Linked DNA regions of Homo sapiens: regions 2, 3 and 4 are each linked to region 1. Evidence: promoter capture Hi-C in 16 types of primary human blood cells and fetal thymus (Javierre and others, 2016). All regions are on one chromosome and are shown on one strand. The core of a region is centred on a gene start or on the middle of the fragment in contact, and the rest is flanking DNA. Distances in the headings are between cores, read along the strand shown.

Region 1 (4,622 bases), core at 1,538-4,037:
CAACTCAGTCAAGCACCCACAGTCACACTCAGACCCTCAGGCTGATCCTTAGTCACAAACTCACACACTGTCAGACAGACTAGACACACACAATTTAGACAATGGTGTCCTACTGACAGGCATGTGAGAGGGAGATACACATAGCTCCGAGAGACAGTCAAACACACCATGACAGACTGATATAGACAGACAAAATTCCATTCTAGTCTAGATCACAAATACAGACTGGAGACATGAAAAGCATGGCAGATAAAATGAGAGAACAGAAAGAGGGAGGACTAAGTGCTATACAGATACAACGCATTAGAAAGGGGGGAAAAAGAACAGGGCTGTTGTCAGTGACACCAAATCAGAGACAAAAATAGAGAGCCCCTGTAGGAGAAAACCAGAAGATGGAAATGAGGAGGTGGAAGCTGTTTGGGGGAATCTATAGTTATAGGTAGAGAAGGAGAGCACTTCAGCTTCTCCAGAAGGAGGGTAAGGCTAGGTTGGGGACAAGGACACAGAGGCTTCCCAAGGGGATTCATCACCTGAAGAATTGCGACGATGACCCCAAAGAGGCCAATGGCGCTGCCAAAGATCTCCACGATGAGAATCTTTACAAAGAGGCTGGGGTTCTGAGCATCGGCCAGGGCAGCCCCACTGCCCACGATGCCCACGCAGACTCCACAGAAGAGGTTAGACAGGCCTACGGTGAGGCCAGCCCCAAACATGGAGTAGCCTGGGAGGATAGAGAGGGGTGCAGTGAGGCTAAGCCAGGAATGGGGGAGATATGGGCTAATGGGGCCAATCACCATCCCCACTCTGCAAAGCAGAAAAAGTAGGTGAGAGAATATCAAAATGATGGCCCAAGCTGGGATGGGGGAGAGTGGAAGCAGGCATGAAGTCCCAGCATTTTGCATTCATACGCCCATCCACCCACCTGCATGGTAGTTCCGATGGCCGATGGCCTTGGGGTCTGTGGCACTGAAAGGCTGAGGGAAGAAGAAAAGTAATCAGAAACCATCCTGATGCACCCCATCCAATCTCTAAGGAATGTGTAGAACACACTGGAATGGATTCCCGCCACCACCCTGGCCTTCCATACCTCAGCCATGTTGCTAATGACAATTGCCATGATGATGCCGTAGATGGCCACAGCCTCACAGAAGATGATGCTGGTAGTGGTAGAGATTAGGGGTAAGGAGTGGAAAGGAGAAAGAAATGAGAAAGAAACCGTCCTTCCTGCCCAGTAAGTCCCCAGCAATCTTTCCCCTATAACATCCCATCCCACAAGGTGGCTTGTCAGAAACAGTATGTCAGATCAAACACACAGGCAGCGCCAACACAGCTGGTTCTGACAAAAGTCCAAGGACCCTGACACTTACCTGACCAGGTTCTTGGTCTTGATCCTGGGGGCCTTCACTCCTCCACCAATGATGGAGGAGCCGGTAATATAGATGCCCCTGGTGGAAGGATAAAAAACTGATGAGCAGAGCCCAAGCTGTCACTGCCCTCAGCATGCCTAAGACCCCAGTGACACCACCTGCCATGACTCAGCCCCTGCCCCCAGTCCCACCACCCCAATACTCACCAGGCTGCCCCAACCACAGACAGGGAGATAGCTAGGCCAATGCCCAGGTTGGACCACATGAAGGGCGAAGTCTCCGTCAGGAACCTGTTGTGGAAGCAGAGAAGAAAGCAGTTCAGCTCTAGCAGGGAAGCGGAGCACAAAATCTTAACCCCTCAAACCCCCTTCAACCCCACCACCAGTTCTACAGGCAACAACTGACCGCGTATTTCCCAAAGGTCCATGTCCCAGGCAGGCAGTGGTGTGGGGGAGGGACTCAGACCAGAGAAAAGAAGAGAGGCTGCAGGGAAGAAGCTTCAAGGGGAATCCTCCCCCTGCCCTCCCTTACCATGCCACATCAAAGCGGAAGCCCAAATCAAAAATGGTGTAGCAGACTCCTGCAGCAGTGAGGGAGAAAAAGGGGGTTACGGGCTGCTCGGTAGAGAGAAGTTCTTCAACCTAAAGTAGCTGCCGAGCTGAAGGGCCACCTCCCTGAAGGGGCGTCCTCAGGCTGCCCCCAGGTGACAGTACAGCTGTGTAGACAGATTCCTCTGCTTAGGCCTCCATTTTCTGCCATTCCCTCGCTAAAACCACCTCCCAGACCAAGCACCTGCGCAGGCAGGGTCGCCACCCGCAAGCCCGAATCCGAGGCGGGACCGAGGGAGCAAGCGCTCCAGCCAGATCCCGCCGGCCCAGTCCGTTCCGCTGTTTACCCAACAAGCTGTGGGTGGGGGAGGGCAAAGCGACTGGGAAAAGAGGAACCGGAGCAGCCGGCTTGTGACCGAGCGGGCCGGTCAGGAGCAAGAAAGGGGGGACAGCAGTGAGACGTGGGAGCGAGGGGAGACAGCGATAGTGGCAGGACGGGGGAGTGCTGCCCTCGCGGCCCCTACCCGCCCGCACCCCTCCTCAAGCAGCTGGAAATCCGGGTCTCCTTTGTCGGAGTCAGAGGCCCTCGCAGGCGCAAGTCCCCAGAGCCTCGGGTGCAGAGCGCGCGGGGGGCCAGTATTCCCCGCAGGCCACTTCCCCGCCGAGTTCCGACCCGGCCAGCTCGGCCGCGATGCTGCTCCCGCCCGCCAGGACCCGGCCTCACCCACGGCCAGCGCGCAGGCCCAGAAGGCCACGAAGACCCCGGAGTAGAGCAGTGCTAGCCCCGTCATGGCGGCGACGGCGGCGGGGGTCGGAACGGCGGGGCCGGAGCTACAAACGCGTCCCAGCGTCCACCGTCCGTCCCGCAGTCTGTCCGCCCGCCCCGCAGCGTCACCTAACTCGCCCACGTGATGCGCCGGTACCACGTGACCCCACGCCGGTTCCCCGCGCAGCGCCGCCGCCCGTCTAGAGCAAGGCGACGCTGGAACCGCAGGCGCTGGGGATTGTGGTAGTTGTAGTCACGCGTCTCGGCGGAGGCTTGGGCGCCCTCCTCTCTAGGAACTTCGACATCTGGCCGGTCCTTCTCGAGTCTCTCCACCTCGCCCTGCCAGCCCTGTTTTATTCCCGAGCCTGCTCGCGGGCCCCTAAGGCGTCCTCTCTGGCAGCCGTGCGTCCTAGCCTGTGGCGGGTGGCGCCGCGCGTGCCCTCTGCCTCACCTTGCTCACGGCGTCTCTCCGCCCCAGTGCGCCTGTTGGCGCTCGCTCCGCTGCCTGGCTAACACCTGCTGTCCTCCGAAATCGTCCTTCCGGCAAGCCTTCCCTAACCCAGTGGCAGGGAAGCGCGTTTGCTGGGCTCCCGCGATGTCCTGGTGATGCTTATTAAGCTTCAGTAAGATGTCACTACCCTGTCGAAATGCCCTGATGGCTCCCATTTCATTCAGGAGAAAAGCCAAAGTTCTCACAATAGCCTGCTAGGCTCCCCACGCCCCTCAGCTGACTTCACCTTCTAATATTCCCCCACTAACTCCCTCCTCTGGCTGCACTGCCCTCCTTGCTATTTCTTTGAACGTGCCAACCATACCGCGACCTCACTGCCCTTGCACTTGCTCTCTCTGCTTCTCCTAACTATACATGCGGCTCATCCTGTAACTTCCTTTCAGTTTTTGCTCACCTTCTTGAAAAGGCCTTCTCTGACCATTCTGTTTAATATTCCACCCCACTTAAACGCTCCTCTGCTTCCCAGCTTTACATTTCTCACGGTACTTACTGATCACCATTTGGCATACTAAGTATTTTATTTGTCCAACTCCCCTGGAAGAGTGGAAGCACCATGGCTTTTGTGTCGCTCACTGCTGTATTTCCAGTACCTGGCACAGAGTGTGTCCTCAGTACATATTTGTAGAACACATGACTGATGCCCACTTTGTCTGGGTTACCTTGTTAGCTTACAGCTCTGCCTCCACCATTAGACTAGGCATTCCCTGAGGGCAGGGACCACATCTCCTTTGTTCACCTTCAATACCCTCGACAATGCCACTGTGACCAGATTCTCAACAAATGTGGGGAAGAAGAGGCGAGTCTTTTCATTTCACCCCTCTCCACCTTTAGGGCCCAGCAACCCCACTTGCTTGAAGCATCCGCCATGTTGGTTCATGTTTAAGCCCAAAGGTCTTTTTCACTCCTTTTCTCCTGACAATTATTTTTTCCTCCAAAAGATCCAGCATAGGTGTTATGCCCTCTGGGAAGCCTCCTCTTAGTCCTTGTCAGGTATCTCCTGTGGGATCCAGCTGTCCCTGGGGCTTCCCTCCTCCCAGATAGAGCTGTTTCACTGTGTACTGACTGCGTATTTAACTCTCTTTCCAGGTACACTGGAAAGGAATCTGGTTAAATACAGTTAACATCTACATCCCAGGACCAGTGCAGGACCTGCAGTATTTCATGAATTAAAAAGAAACACAAAGAGAAAAGGTATCTGGTTTATTTAGGTTGCTGTGATCTCCCTGAGAAATAAGAGTCAGTATAGACCAACGCTGTCCAACCAATAGAACTTTCTGCCATGATGGCATATCCTGTAGCTGCACTGTCCCCTCATGTGGCTGTCTGAACACTTGAATGACTAATGTGACTGAGAAACTGAGCTTTTAATCTTAATTAACTTAAATTTAAGTTTAGCCACATGTATTTAGTGGCTACTGTACTGGACAGTG
Region 2 (4,622 bases), core at 1,058-3,557, 660 kb before region 1:
ACCTGCTCTGTCTGCTTCTTTATTTTGTCCTAAAATATCAATCCGAGTACTCCCAGGCCTGAGATATCTGGAGCTCCTCCTCAGTAACCACAGGTCCCCATCTCTAAGGCCTGTTGCCCTCAGCCAAGTGTCTCCACCGAAACTCTTGCCCGTTCACTGCTTCCCACAGCAGATTACATTTGAGGTAACCGATCTGATCCATCAGACCAACCTCCAGGGGCCTGGTGGGAAGCTTTGCTGAGGATGAAGAAGAGGCCCTACTCTGGGAGGAGGGATGGGGGTGATCGGATACAGGAACTTATCTGCAATTCTTCACTTCTTTCATATCTAACAACGACAGCAATCTCTGTTCTGTCAGCACGCACAGCGCAGTTTAAATGGGCCTCGCCACTCGCCTGCTCATCCTGCCTCTGCCTCCTTCTCTCTGAAGTCTGCTGGGCAGCTTCTTCAGCTGGCGTTATCACTCCCTCTAACCGGTCTTGGCAGGCAATCTAATTCCTCCTGAAAAGGTCACCGCCATTTTAACTGCCTTTCAATCACATTAAGCACGCGCTGCCCGGCTTGCAGCCCGGCCCGCCCGGCGGGCGATCAATGCGCTGCACTGACACCAGCCCGCCTGGCGAGGCCACACCCAACCCCCCAAGAGTTAGGGCCTATCAGTCCTGGCCAGGGAGGGTAGGCTGACAGATGGCCAGCTTTTGCAGACAGGGTTTTGGGGGCAGAGGCAGTAGGGATCAGCCAGGGCCTCCCTTTGATAGCCCCCCCACTGAGGAGCCTCAGCCTCCTCCGCTCCACTGCGCCCCGCTCTCTGCCTCGTGGCCCCCGCTGATCTCGCTGTAAAACAGCCTTTCAAGTCTGCCTGTCTTTTGACTGCACTAAGCTGTTTAAGAGGCGGCAGCAGCTTCTATCAGGAAAGCTGGAGCAATTCTCTGCAGATAAAGGCACCTCCGGCCCCTGTTCCCTCTTCAAGTCTCACTCTCATTCTCGCTCTCCAAATCGCTCAAAGAAAAGCCCCCTTTGAACTCCCCTCAGGAATTCTTGAAAGGAACAACCTCACAGTGTAAACACTCAGGGAAAACGGATACCCGCCCGGGGCCTAAGAGCCCCTCACACTGCTGTGCAAGTGCATCCCGGCACAGGGGAAATACTCTTGTCAAATCAGCAGGCCCTTTGCAGCTTTATCCTCCATAAGCCCTGTCTGGTGCCCAGAAGCCATCAGGTCCAGGTCTGTGCCAAGGAACCTAAGAAGGTGCCACAGCAATGGAGGATGTGAGCAGTTGCAGCTGCCAACAGAGCTAACCAGAGCAGCACGTTGAAACTGACCCTGTGTGGCTGCCATCGGACACCCATGTGTCCAACTCATGGGACAGTCGTCAGCCCTGCTGCTCACTCTTCTAGGGCCTCAGATACTCGAAGGCTCCAGTACGGGATGAGTGAAATGGCAAACTAACACTCTCCAGCTCCGGCTCAGGGAGACTGTTTGGTCTGACTAACCTTCCTGATTTATGTTTTGGCTTGCCCCCAAACACCTGGGTAATGTGAGAGACGCCCAGAGGCATAATGTCTCATCTGGGCTCTTAGCCCCTTCGTGGAACCAGTCTGCACTGGACGGCCCTGCAGAGACCACTCCTCAGCATCTGCCCAGGTAGCACGGCCCCACGAAGGCAGAGAACTTCTTCCCAGCTGCTGTGAGATTCCCCAGGGACCATACACAGCAGTATTCCCAAAGGTGTTGCCCAGAGAGAGAGGCAGACGGGAAGCAGATTGGCTCACTTAATGACCACAAGCTGCAGTACCAGCTGTGCTTGTGCACAGAAAGAGAGAAGAGCTGGAGGCCAAGAGGCAGACAGCTCCCCTTTTCCCCTGCCCAAGGCTGGGGAGTTTAACAAGTCACTAACCCTGGGCACCCAACCAATTCTGCTGTCTGACCTGGTGGGGGGTGTCAAGCCTTGCTCTTCCAAGGAGCTGGGAGGGCACTGGAGATGGGCAGGGCCCTGCACACTCCTTTGTAGCAACTGGGGAGAGCCCAAGGGAAGGAGGGAGCAGCTGGGCCCAGGCCCCTCTTGCTTCAGGGCAGAGGGCGCCCAGGGAGAAGGGATGGGATCAGAGCTAAAATTAGATTCACCAATGAAGCTCATGGGAGGTCAAATTTTGCCATAACTCACTCTCCTCTGTAACTGATTTCCCTGACATAGGGCTGAAGAGGAGGAGGAGGAAAATCCAATGTGTTTGCCTGGAAGCCCTCAGGGCCCCCAGTGCTGGAGGTGTACAGCAGGTTGCTGGATTCTCATTTATCAGCCTTAAGAGGGATGGAGTGATAAATGCATAACCGTCCCTTTAATATTTTATGCAGGTGCTAACGCGGCTTGGCTGTCACCTTCAATGCATCACCCGAAGCTGAGAGCCCCCCTTCGTCACTCCTAGCTTGCAGCCTCACAATTCCATTTCCCCACCCAAATACATCCATTTTAATATGCACATCACAGGCAGGCAGCACGGTCACAAAGGAGCCCCACCAGCAGCAGTCCCCACGTGGTGGAACGGATGGATGACCAGCCACCAGCCTCGGCCTCTTGGCTTCCAGCAGATGGATACCCAGCAGAGGCCTGGCACCAGAGTGCCAATGTCTACGTGTCAGCTGCTTGTACCTCGGAAGCCACCTTCCAGGAGAGTGGTGGCCCGTATCCGCTTCTGTCCACACCACTCATACTCCTCAAAGCGGTTGTTGTTCTCATGCTCGATGTCCACAGCATCATCCTCAGCCATGCAGGAGCCTTCCCTCTGTGAAGAGCAGAGCAGGATCATGCTGGGCCCAGGCCATCCCCACCTGCTCCCCACAGTCTGCAACGAAGGCACAGCTCTAGCCCCAGCTGTGGTGTGCCAAGTGGGCCCTCAGCTCTAGGGCTCCTTTGAAGCAAACCAATTTAGAGGTCAAAGACCTGGGCCTCTTCCCAATAGTTTTCCGCTGGAGCCCAAGGAGGGAATGAGTGAGAGTGAAAGCAAAAGGAGAGAGCAGTGGTCAGAAGGGAAGAAGCTGCTGAGACCACATGGAGACCCCAAGAGCCCACAGATTCAGGGGCAGTCAGCAGCTAGTGTCGGGGGAAGGGAGCGGGGAAGGAAGGTGGGTGGTGATGGCCCCTCTACCTTAGAAAGGCAATGCTCCACATGCCTACTCATCTCCTGCTCCGATCCTGCCAGGGGGCGGTTGCACAGGGGACATACCTGCCCTTCATCTTGCTTCCTCCGTTTCATTTTCCCAATCCGAGCTGCACGGGGAAACCGAAAACAAAGCACAGAACAAGCAGACGGTCACTGCAGCCCCCAGGGTCCCAGTGGAGCTGACACATCCTGACCTCTTGCCAGCCATTGGCCTTTTTATTCAGTGCCTGATCTGGCCCTCATCTTGAAATACCTCCTGCTCCTTTGGGGACTGGGCTTTGCCAAGAGCACCTGGGGAGGAGACTGGTGCTAACTAAGCCAGTGAGTAAGTCCACTCTTTGGCTGCAGCTGGTGCAAGGTCTACCCATACCTTTCTATTTGCAGTGTTTAATAAAAATCCAGTGAGCAAAGACACTCCATGTTGCTAGGTATCTCTCCAGAAGGCCAAGACCATGAACTCTTTTGGTGTCAGGAAATACAACTCTAAAGAGCATCTCTTGACTAGAACCTAACCCCTCCGATGGCCTGACTTGGCCTGCTGTTCACTCATCAGCTAAATCCTCTTTGGTTCCTGGGCCAAGAGCCCTGAGGTACAGCTCCTAGCATCCCACCTAGAATCTTATCAGGAAGAATTTCTCTGAGGTCCACTAATCCCATTTCACAGAAGAGGAGACTGAGGCCCAGTCATAAAGGTAAGACGGTCTGGGTCAGACCTTTGGCAGCCAGGTCAGAAGGCTCAGGGAACCCTGAGAAGGCAGCCCTTATTGTGCCCACCCGAACCTGTTCCATCATTTCTAATCAGTACAGAGGGGCTGGCAGGCCCTGGAGGCAGAGGGCTGCCTGCCATGTTGTCCCACAGGGGGCTCAGTTCCAAAGTGCACACTGCAAGCCCACAACACTGCTAATTAATGCTGAGCAATGCAATCATTTCTAATTAGCTCACTAATCCCTCTCTGTAGCCCTCCTGTCACTGAAGCAGGAAGGGGTCAAAACAAGAAACTCTCTTCCCTCTAGTCCCTTCCAGAATGCCACAGCAGGATCAGAGATGGCTACTCTGGGACCAGACTGATGGGGAGTGGGGAGAGCCAGCAAAGGAGGGAAAGGTTCCCCAAAGCAGGGCCAGGAAGAACTTTCTCATGGACAGTGACCCTAACGGGAAGCTCATGAATGCAATCTAGGAGGGGAACACAGGTGAGAGCTGCTATGTTACAATTTAAGCTTCTACCGTGTGTCAGGCTCACAGCCAAGTACCTTACCCAAGGTAGCTCATTTACTACCACTTGCTGAAGCTAGATTGCATTATCCCATTTTAACAGATGAAGAAACCCAAAGCTTAGAGAGATCAAGGTACGTGTCCAAGTAGCTAAAAAGTGGCAAAGGCAAGATAGGAAACCAGAACTGACTTCACAACCTAGAATGCCCTCCTGTTTCAAGGGGACCTCCTAACTGAGCAGCATCAACAA
Region 3 (4,622 bases), core at 1-2,500, 620 kb after region 1:
CTCAGGAGGAAGCTGGCCACCTCCATCTGGGCAGCACTGCGATGGGGGATATAGCGGTCACCGCCAGGTTTGCTAGGAGTGGTCTGAACCTTGGAACTGGATTTGCCTGGGGCGGAGAAAGAGAAGACAGTCTGACCAGGCTCCCCAGGGAGAAAGTATGAAGGCTGCTCTCACTCAGTTCCTTTGGCACCTCACTGACCAGGAGTTCGGCCCGGAGTCCTGCCGGCGCTGTGGGATCGGTTGGCGGCCCGCATGGGTGAGGGGGCCGGGCCTGCGGCTTCCTTGGCTTTGCGCTGCCAGCGCGCAGGGGGTGCATTGGGGATGGGTGCATCCAGCTGAAGCAGCGAGTGCAGGTCACTCTCGAACGCGAACTGTGCCATGGGAGCGCCCGCAGGGGGAGGGGTCCTTGCAGTTGGTGCCTACGGAGCCCTGGAGGAAAGGAGGCGACGGTGCTCAGGGGACAGAAAGGGACCCCTTCGCTCCTGGCCGGCCACAAAATCAGGGCCACCCTCGGCTGCAGCCCCTTCCGGCCTAGCACCCCCTCCCCCTGGCCACGGCCCCACCTCGGCTCAGCCCCACCACCTCTCACCGTGCCCTCCGGAGCAGTTCCGACCGGCTTTAACACGCCTGGCTTACGCCTCTTAAACTCTCCGCTCCGAGCGCCTATTGGCTCCTTCAAAATCCAACCGTCGCAACCGTTGCCCTAGCCCATTGGCCTCTCCGGCGAAGGGGGCGGGCCTTCCGGGGAAAGTCTCAGCTATCACGAGAGTCTAGCGGCGGAGCGCGATTTGAAGGGTACGAGAGGGGCTGGGAGCCGGCGCCAGAGGACTAGTACTGGAAAGCCGGCCGGGACAGGGCGGGGCAGGGCGGGGCCGGGTGGGGCCTGCGCTGCCTCAGCGTCCTGGAGTCGTCTCGGTTCGCCCTTTTGCGTGCCTTCCACCGCCGCGAGCTCGGAATGTCTGGCCCCGGGTGCTTCAGGGTCCGAGAACCTGCAGAAGTTCACACTTAAATCCTACACGAGAGTCGTATTTATGATGCAGAACTCGGTGCAGAACCCGATGGAGTGCCCAAGGCGCTTGAGCCGTTCCTAGAAGGGGAAGGAGAGCCGCGGGCGGCAGCGGGGCAGGGGACGGAATTGGGAAGCTTGGGAGCAGGAAGAAGGCCAGAGCTACTTAGGGTACATTCCACTTTTGCTTGGCGCCGGGTAGGAACCCTGCTAGAAAGGAAGTAACGTGTGTTTGTCTCGTTTGCTGTTGTTTTACAAACAGGGAAAATGAGGTTGAAAAGGGTGAATGAATTCCTTAAGGTCAAGAAAAAGGATCGGTATTCAAACCTGCCTATCTGGAAGATAAGCTTAGACTGCCCTACAGGAGGCACTGTGGCTTATCCCCTTGGGGCTTTAAAGATGTGAGGACCTTAGAGATCCATTAGTCTAACCTGTGCGTGGTGCAGCCTCCCCACCCCGACAACAAATCCATATTTTACAGATGGAGAAACGGAGGCCCAGGGAAGGGATGTGCCCGAGGTCATACAAAGAAGTTTGTGGGAATCCAGGTCTGACTCGCACTCAATCTAGTGCTCTAATAATGACTTGAGTGAATTGTATGAATGTGCTCAGAGGTGGAGCAGCAATCATAAAAGTAATAATGGTACCATTTATGGACCATCTAACTACTGTGTTAAAACAATTTACAGGCCATGCGCGGTGGCTCACGCTTGTAATCCCAGCACTTTGGGAGGCCGAGGCGGGCAGATCACGAAGTCAGAAGATCGAGACCATCCTGGCTAACACGGTGAAACCCCGTCTTTACTAAAAATACAAAAAATTAGCCGGGCTTGGTGGCGGGCGCCTGTAGTTCCAGCTACTCGAGAGGCTGAGGCAGGAGAATGGCGTGAACCCGGGAGGCGGAGCTTGCAGTGAGCCGAGATCGAGCCACTGCACTCCAGCCTGGGCAACAGAGCGATACTCTGTCTGAAAAAAAAAAAAAAAGTTTACATACATTATCGAGTTCAATCCTTAATCCCATAAGGCAGATAGATACCCCATCTTCCCTTTACAGAAAAAAGAAACTGGGTCAGAAAGATTAGAAACTTGCCCAAAGGCATGCAGCCAATAATAAGTAGGGGAGCCCAGGATTCAAACTATCTGACTAATCCCTGCAATCTAAACAATACGCTATACTGTCCCAGAAAGAGGCTGGAAAAATCATTTTCAGTCATTAGCTTAAAGTCCACTCCGATGCTTACAGATAATGTTATTATCTTTGACTTGAAGCCTTTGCATTCTCTATTTCCAATTACCTTGGAAAATAAGGAATTGGATATGCTTAGGTTAGAGGTGGGGAATTCCCAGAAAACATAGAAAAGGTTGTCTCATGTCAAGTTGGTCAGGGTCTTAAATGTTAAGCTAAAGACTTTGGACTTCATCTGCTAGGCATTGTGGTACCTGTGGGGTTTCTGTGTAGGGAAGGACCAAATAAAACATCTGAGGGGGGGGATATGGCAATAATTTGCAACTTCTGGTGGTAGCTATAGAGAAGGATAAAGGGTATAGCCTCAGGGAATTTGTACATTTAAAAATAAAGGATTTGGGCAGGTTGTCATGGTTCACTCCTGTAATCCCAGCACTTTGGGAGGCCAAGGCGGGCAGATCACTTGAAGTCAGTAGTTCAAGACTAGTCGGGCCAATGTGGCGAAACCCTGTCTCTACTAGAAGTACAAAATTAGCCAGGTGTGGTGGTGCACACCTGTAATCCCAGCTACCTGGGAGGCTGAGGCAGGGGAATCGCTTGAACCTGGGAGGCGCAGGTTGTAGTGAGCGAGGTCGCGCCACTGCACTCTAGCCTGGGTGACAGAGGGAGACTTTGTCTCAAAATAATAATAATAATAAATGAATGAAGGAAGGCAATGGAAATTATCCAGACATGGATCTTGAAGTGGGAGATACCCTAATATATGTAGTCAAGTGGAATGATGACAGAAAGGGTCAGATTTGGCCATTGAAAATCAAATTACCGATGACTTTGGAGAGAGCAGGATCAGGAAAGTGGGTGCTTGAGATCCATTTTGGAGGAGTTGCGGAAAGAATGAAATAGGGAGAACGGGAAGCCGGCAAGTATAGGTGACTTGTGTAGCCCATCCCCTGATATCCTCTATATTCGTTTGCTAGAGTTACTGTAACAAAGTACCACAAACTGGCTTAAATGACAGAAATTGGTTGTCTCACAATTCTGGAGGTTAGAAGTTCCAGATCAAGGTGTCATGAGAGTTGTGTGAGAACCGTGAGGAAGAATCTGTTCCATGCCTCTCTCCTGGCTTCTGGTGGTGGTTTGCCGGCAATCTTTGTCATTCCTTGGCTTATAGAAGAATCGCCCTGTTCTCTGCCTTCATCTTCACTTGGCTTTCTTTCTGTGTGTATGTGTGTCCAATTTTCTCTTTTTATAAGAATACCAATCATATTGAACTAGGGCCCTGACCTCATCTTAACTAATTATATCTGCAATGACCCTATTTCCTAATAAGGTCGTATTTGAAGTACTGGGAGTTAAGACTTCAACATCTGGCTGGGTGTGGTGGCTTACACTTGTAATCCCAGCACTTTGGAAGGCCAAGGCCAGAGGATTGCTTGAGCTCATGAGTTTGGGACCAGTCTGGGCAACATAGTATCACCTTGTCTCTAAAAAAAATACAGAAAACAGGCCTGCGCGGTGGCTCACACCTGTAATCCCAGCACTTTGGGAGGCTGAGGCGGGCGGATCACTAGGTCAGGAGATCGAGACCATCCTGGCTAACGCGGTGAAACCCTGTCCTGCGAAAAATATAAAAAAAATTCGCCGGGCATGGTGGCGGGCGCCTGTAGTCTCAGCTACTCGGGAGGCTGAGGCAGGAGAATGGCGTGAACTCGGGAGGTGGAGCTTGCAGTAGGCCGAGATCGCGCCACTGCACTCCAGCCTGGGCGACAGAGCAAGATTCCATCTCAAAAAAAAATAATAATAATACAGAAAACATTAGCCAAGCTAGTGGTGCACACCTGTAATTCCAGTAGTCCCAGCTACTTGGGAGGCTGAGGTGGGAGGATCGCTTGAGACCAGGAGTTTGAGGCTGCAGTGAGCCGTGACCACACCACTGCATTCCAGCCTGGGCGACAGAGTGAAGACCCTGTCTCAAAAAAAAAAAAAAAAACAAAAAAACTTTTATCTTTTTTTGTGGTGTGGTCTTGGCTCACTGCAACCTCTGCCTCCCGGTTTCAAGTCATTCTTGTGCCTCAGCCTCCCAAGTAGCTGGGATTTCAGGTGTGTGCCACCGGGCCCGGCCAAAAAAAAAAAAAAAAGGACTTTAACATGTGAATTTGAGGGAGAGGAGAGGAATAGAATTCAATCCATAATATCCTCCTACTGTTGGAACCCAAGCAGAAACCAAAGCCCAGGAGAATGCTTGGATGCCAGCCATATGAATCAGCCTTGCTAAGCATAGGACAAGATGGAGAAGGATGGAGAATAGGTCTGGGTGGGACAAATGGATGACATCCAGTATACCCAATCTCCATAATTCCTCCCCAGCCACATGAAAGGCTCTGACTTTACTCCTAGGGACTCAAGACTGGAATGGGAAGAGCATGAAAT
Region 4 (4,622 bases), core at 1,008-3,507, 520 kb after region 1:
ATTTCTGTGGTGTCAGTTGTAATATTTCCTGTTTCGTTTCTTAGTGAGGTTATTTGGATTTTCGCTCTTCTTGGTTAATCTTGCTAACGGTTATTTTATTATTTTATTTTATTTTATTTTATTTATTGTTTCTTGTGACAGGGTTTTGCTCTGTCACCCAGGCTGGAGTGCAGTGGTGCAATCACAGCTCACTGCAGCCTTGACCTCCCCCAGACTCAAGTGATCTTCCCACCTCAGCCTCTGGAGTAGCTGGGGCTACGCACATGCCACAACGCCTGGCCAATTTTTATATTTTTGTCGAGATGGGGTTTCACCAGGTTGCTAAGGCTGGTCTGAAACTCCTGGGCTCAAGTTATCCTCCTGCCTCAGCCTCCCAAAGTGCTGGGATTACAGGTGTGAGCCACCCCCTCTGACCCATTGGGGACCATTTTACACGCTACCTGCCACAGGTTCTGGACAGATAATACAATAAAAGACCACTGTGCTGAGCAGTGACAAGTTGAGTCTAAAAAGTGATCATTAGAATTCAAACCAGACAAACAACACAAACAAGCTGAACCTGTAGAAAAATCTTGAGATTATAGTGATACCACAATGAGGATGTTAATATCAAATGTGCTAACAGATGGCAGTAATGCATACAGGTTTTAAAAATGTGTTTTTATTAAATATAAGACAGATAAAAAATGATATTTATAAAATATATGTTAGCTCTAAAGAAGAGTAGTAAAATTAACATACATGAATGTGCTATCCAACGTAAGAGAAGGCTCCAATGCTACCCTCTTCTGTCCTCCTCTAGAGGTGGTCACCATTATGCTGAATTTTGTGATAATTATTCACTTGTTCTTCATTGTTTTATCAGAGATGTCCATATTCCTACACAAGATACTGTTGGTTTTCCCTGCCTTTGACTTTATATCAATGGAATCACACTGTAGGTATTTCTCTGTGATTTGCTTGTTCCTCTAGAGATTATGTTTCTGAGATTTATCCACTTGATGCTTTCATACTGATGTTTTTCAGTTCCAATCAAACTTCACTAAGCTCTTCATATATTGTCCTAACACAGGAACAAACTCAGTGTTATCATTTGAGCCACCAGCTTTCTCTTGTACAACATGGTATGACTATACTATTACACAACTCATCTATGTATGGATGGATGGACATTTGGGTTAGTCCCATCTTTTTGCTACATAAATAGTTCTGCTGTGAACATCACTTTACTTCTTTCCTGGTACACTTGTGCAAAACTTTCTTCAGGGGATACACCTGGGAAAGGAACTGTCAGATCATAGGCATATTAGCTTTAAGAGACAATGCCAAATTGTTTTCCAAGGAGGTTATAGTGATTTACACTCCTGTTGGCAGTTGTTCCAAATCCTATCCAATATTTGATAATGTGTTTTTTATTTTTGCCAATGTGGAAGGCATAAAATAGAATTTCATTGAGGTTTTGATTTGCATTTCACATGAGTTGTAATATGTTTTACTGCATTGCCAAATGTTATCCAATGATCAAATGAGACTCTGAACTCTGTACTAAAGTTTTTGCCATTATCCATGCAACTATTTACAAGTTGTTGTTACTTTAAAATCACACCTGTGCAAATTATTTGGTTAAAAGTCAAATACGTACCTGTGAAGTGTGCACAATAAAGCAAAAAAAAAAGGCAAATGCAAAGAATCAAAACTTGTGATAACTTAGTGTCATGCCTGTGTTGCAAGGTGGGATAAGACATAGTCAAAGGTGAATAAAGCAAATAATTTTCATGGACATTGCACTCCTTATATATTTATTTGAGCATATTATGTGAAGGTGGAAGGTGTTGTAAGGGAATTAAGGGGAAAGTGAGTCACCTATGTCTAGTTTATGTATAATCTTTACTGCCCTAAGGCATGTCCAAGGAAAAAAGGGGTGGACAATCGGGAGTTGGACACATTTTGTTTCTGACGCAGAGCTCAGCAGCTGTCAACATCATAAATAGAATTTGCATACTCGGAGATCAACAGTGAGGTGGTAATAAAGGAATTACTTCCTCTAGATGTTACTCTTTGTTGTCAATTTTGGATTGCAAACACACTAAAGTTGGGACTGATTACAATGTTAAGCTTAGTGAGGTCTTGATTGGACGAGAAACACGTTCCAAGACAAGGCAAAGGTCCTAGTGTAAAACCAGCTGCAAAAGAGCATGAAATCAGGTGATCAGTGTCAGCTGGCAGCAGTCTGTTCTTGGAGGCAGAGCTGAAGAAACAGAACCTGCCAAGAATTTGGGTTCACCACGGGATCAGGCTGGATCCCTGGTGTCTGAGCTGGCCTCATTTGAGATGGAGTTGAGTGTTGACAGAACAATCAGTGGGAGCTGGGTGTTCCTAATGTTGCACTTTAAGCTTCTCTGTCAAAGTTAGCACAGACGATAGATCAAGATGACGTTTACTCATGAATTGTTGGGATATAAATTTATATTTTTCAAAGGAAATTTAAGATATCAACAACTTAAATATGTTCCTATTTTTGACCATGTAATTCTACCCATAAGAACCTGCCCAATCAGTTGGGTTATTGTAGATGAAAGTAAAATCATTCAAATTATCTCAAGAAACATTAAGAGGCTATACAGAGACAGAAACCCAGGAAAGTCTAAGCATCCCAGCCTTAAGTGCACAGACCTGGGGGCAGCTATGGGTTTGGGCACCCTTGGGATGACATGGGTTTCTCAGGGTGCTACCTCTATTCACAGGACTTGGTTCCCCTCCTTTCCGCTCTAGCTTTTCTTTACCATAGGACTGTCTTATTTCGTTTCTACAGCCCAGTCACCTTCTGGCAACACCACCTGTTGACTCTCAGCATTTCCTTGTTTGAACTCTTGATTGGTTAAATTACCTTTCCAAACGACGCAAGTAAGAGGTTTTTGGCCAGTCTATGGATTGGCTGCCCTGGGATCAGATGACCTCCCTGGTCCAATCAGCTGAGGCTAAGGCTAAAAAGGGACAGCTCACCCATAGCTGCTCCAATGGGGCGGTTTCCCTTGCAAAAGACTAGCGGCGTGAACGGGCAAACACTGTGATGGACATCTCTAGAAAAAGACTCGGAAAAGAGTCAGAGATAGGGACTAAGAAGTGCCTGAAAGTGCGCTTGCAGCGCGCGTGCACACACACGATATCCAACCACAAAGTACAATAATGACTTGCTGCTTAGGTGTGCGACAATGAGCAGCGAAGGCACTGACTTTGAAGGCTATTGGAAAACACGAGGAAATGCTCACAAAATAATATTCCATGAAAAAGAGCTATAAAACAGCATATACCGAATGATCAGAATTTCCAAAGAAAAAAATTGCATATTTTAAAATTTGGACGGGAAAGCCAACAGGCTAGTGGTGTGATAACTGGCGGTATAAAAGTGCTTCTTTATTTGGTCATACAGCTTTCAAATGTTGCTTAACGAACAGATAGCATTTTTATAATCAGAGGAAAGACTCAGTATTAAAGTGCGCGTCCCATCATTGCAACCGGGCCCTCGGGCAGCCAGCTCTCTCTTGCTTCGCGTCCGGCTCTCAGGCCCTGGAGCTCGGCCTCCCTACCTTCTCCAGGCGCGGGTCCTGCTCCTTTTCCGGCCGCCCTCGCTCCGCCCCTTCGCCTCTCCCCGTGATCCCTCTCTCGCTAACCGTAGGCGCTTTTCGTGAAGGCCCGGGTTTTTACAGCACTTCGCTTTTCTAACCACGAACAGTGCTCGTTCGTTCGCAGGGCCAGCAAGGAGAGCCCCGCCCCCGCCCGCCGCCCGCCGCCCGCCGCCCGCCGCCTTTGGATCCCGCGGACTCCGCCCGGCCCGGCCTCCCCAGGCATGGCGCCGCTGCGCTTCTCCGCCAATCTGTCCTGGCTATTCCCCGAGCTCTCCGGCCTCCCCGCGCGGGTGCGGGCCGCGGGCAGCTCGGGCTTCGAGGCCGTCGAGGTGGCCTGGCCGTACGCGGAGACGCCTGAGGCGCTGGCGCGCGCCGCGCGAGAAGCGGGGCTGCGGCTTGTACTGATCAACACGCCCCCGGGTGCGTCGCGGGCCGGGAGGGCTGGGAGGGCTGGGGGGTGCCGGGGCGCGGGCAGGGGAGTGTCCGAGCCGGGGGCTGAGGCCCGTTCTCTCTGCAGGAGACCAAGAGAAGGGGGAAATGGGGCTGGGGGCCGTCCCCGGGAGACAGGCGGCCTTCCGAGAGGGACTGGAGCAGGCCGTGCGGTATGCCAAAGCCCTGGGCTGTCCCAGGTACCCCGCTCCACCCCACCCCCACCCCTGTGACCCATGACCCTGATGCAGGTTCAGGGAGTCGAGGACGCCAGATCTGAGACGCTCAGAAGTCTGAGCCCACTGGTTTATCTCTGCCTCTGCGGTCCTGGTCCTTTGTAAATTGCCTTTTGTATTTTATCTGTCTTATGCCACTCTGTTTGCCACTCTTTCATGCTCACCCCATGCTGGGATCCCATGCTGGGAGCTCAGTCTGCCTAGGCAGATAGGAGAGTAAATATATACAGTGATGCATTTGAGGACAGGCCTATTCCAGGAAGCTGTGGGAGCAGGGTAGGCACCTAACCCTGTCTGGATCAGAGAAAGCTGCTTACAGGTAGTGATGCTT

The links. Contacts are between HindIII fragments. The CHiCAGO score rates a contact against its expected background, and 5 or more counts as called.
Region 2: a contact is called between a fragment that was not itself captured here and the fragment with the promoter of ATP6V0B in region 1, in 1 of 17 cell types (fetal thymus). The highest score is 6.2, in fetal thymus.
Region 3: a fragment that was not itself captured here is called in contact with the fragment with the promoter of ATP6V0B in region 1 in 8 of 17 cell types (fetal thymus, total CD8 T cells, total B cells and 5 more); the score reaches 16.0 in fetal thymus.
Region 4: a contact is called between a fragment that was not itself captured here and the fragment with the promoter of ATP6V0B in region 1, in 1 of 17 cell types (fetal thymus). The highest score is 5.5, in fetal thymus.

Annotation. Positions count from the first base shown.
Region 1 is chr1:43,973,125-43,977,746 of GRCh38, reverse strand. It overlaps ATP6V0B (ATPase H+ transporting V0 subunit b), which reads right to left and starts at 2,787. Exons shown (of 8, transcript NM_004047.5): 1 at 2,640-2,787; 2 at 1,899-1,947; 3 at 1,574-1,657; 4 at 1,368-1,445; 5 at 1,088-1,157; 6 at 923-974; 7 at 531-721. The coding sequence starts at 2,706. It overlaps LOC124904167 (a long non-coding RNA gene), which reads left to right and starts at 2,882. Exons shown (of 2, transcript XR_007066053.1): 1 at 2,882-3,304; 2 at 3,860-4,382. DPH2 (diphthamide biosynthesis 2) reads right to left here. Exons shown (of 6, transcript NM_001384.5): 6 at 4,378-4,622. RefSeq lists silencers at 2,249-2,298, 2,699-2,748 and enhancers at 1,968-2,800, 2,999-3,048, 3,099-3,218, 2,801-3,634. The HindIII fragment of the contact is 1,435 bases long and covers 1,867-3,301 here.
Region 2 is chr1:44,634,189-44,638,810 of GRCh38, reverse strand. It overlaps RNF220 (ring finger protein 220), which reads right to left. Exons shown (of 15, transcript NM_018150.4): 7 at 3,223-3,266; 8 at 2,649-2,781. It overlaps LOC107984950 (a long non-coding RNA gene), which reads left to right. Exons shown (of 2, transcript XR_001738031.2): 2 at 2,354-3,573. Among named protein-coding and RNA genes, the nearest start is that of SNORD145, 35 kb to the left of the region's middle. The HindIII fragment of the contact is 4,145 bases long and covers 235-4,379 here.
Region 3 is chr1:43,354,974-43,359,595 of GRCh38, reverse strand. CDC20 (cell division cycle 20) reads right to left here and starts at 615. Exons shown (of 11, transcript NM_001255.3): 1 at 590-615; 2 at 200-429; 3 at 1-106. The coding sequence starts at 380. It overlaps CDC20-DT (CDC20 divergent transcript), which reads left to right and starts at 923. Exons shown (of 4, transcript NR_183650.1): 1 at 923-1,046; 2 at 1,488-1,554; 3 at 1,696-1,793; 4 at 4,590-4,622. RefSeq lists silencers at 427-576, 767-876 and enhancers at 319-827, 1,167-1,226, 1,338-1,846. The HindIII fragment of the contact is 210 bases long and covers 1,146-1,355 here.
Region 4 is chr1:43,453,019-43,457,640 of GRCh38, reverse strand. SZT2 (SZT2 subunit of KICSTOR complex) reads right to left here. Exons shown (of 72, transcript NM_001365999.1): 72 at 3,394-4,622. HYI-AS1 (HYI antisense RNA 1) reads right to left here and starts at 3,714. Exons shown (of 2, transcript NR_174945.1): 1 at 3,588-3,714; 2 at 642-1,063. HYI (hydroxypyruvate isomerase (putative)) reads left to right here and starts at 3,710. Exons shown (of 8, transcript NM_001190880.3): 1 at 3,710-4,046; 2 at 4,144-4,255. The coding sequence starts at 3,848. RefSeq lists silencers at 3,674-3,973, 4,084-4,143. The HindIII fragment of the contact is 279 bases long and covers 2,118-2,396 here.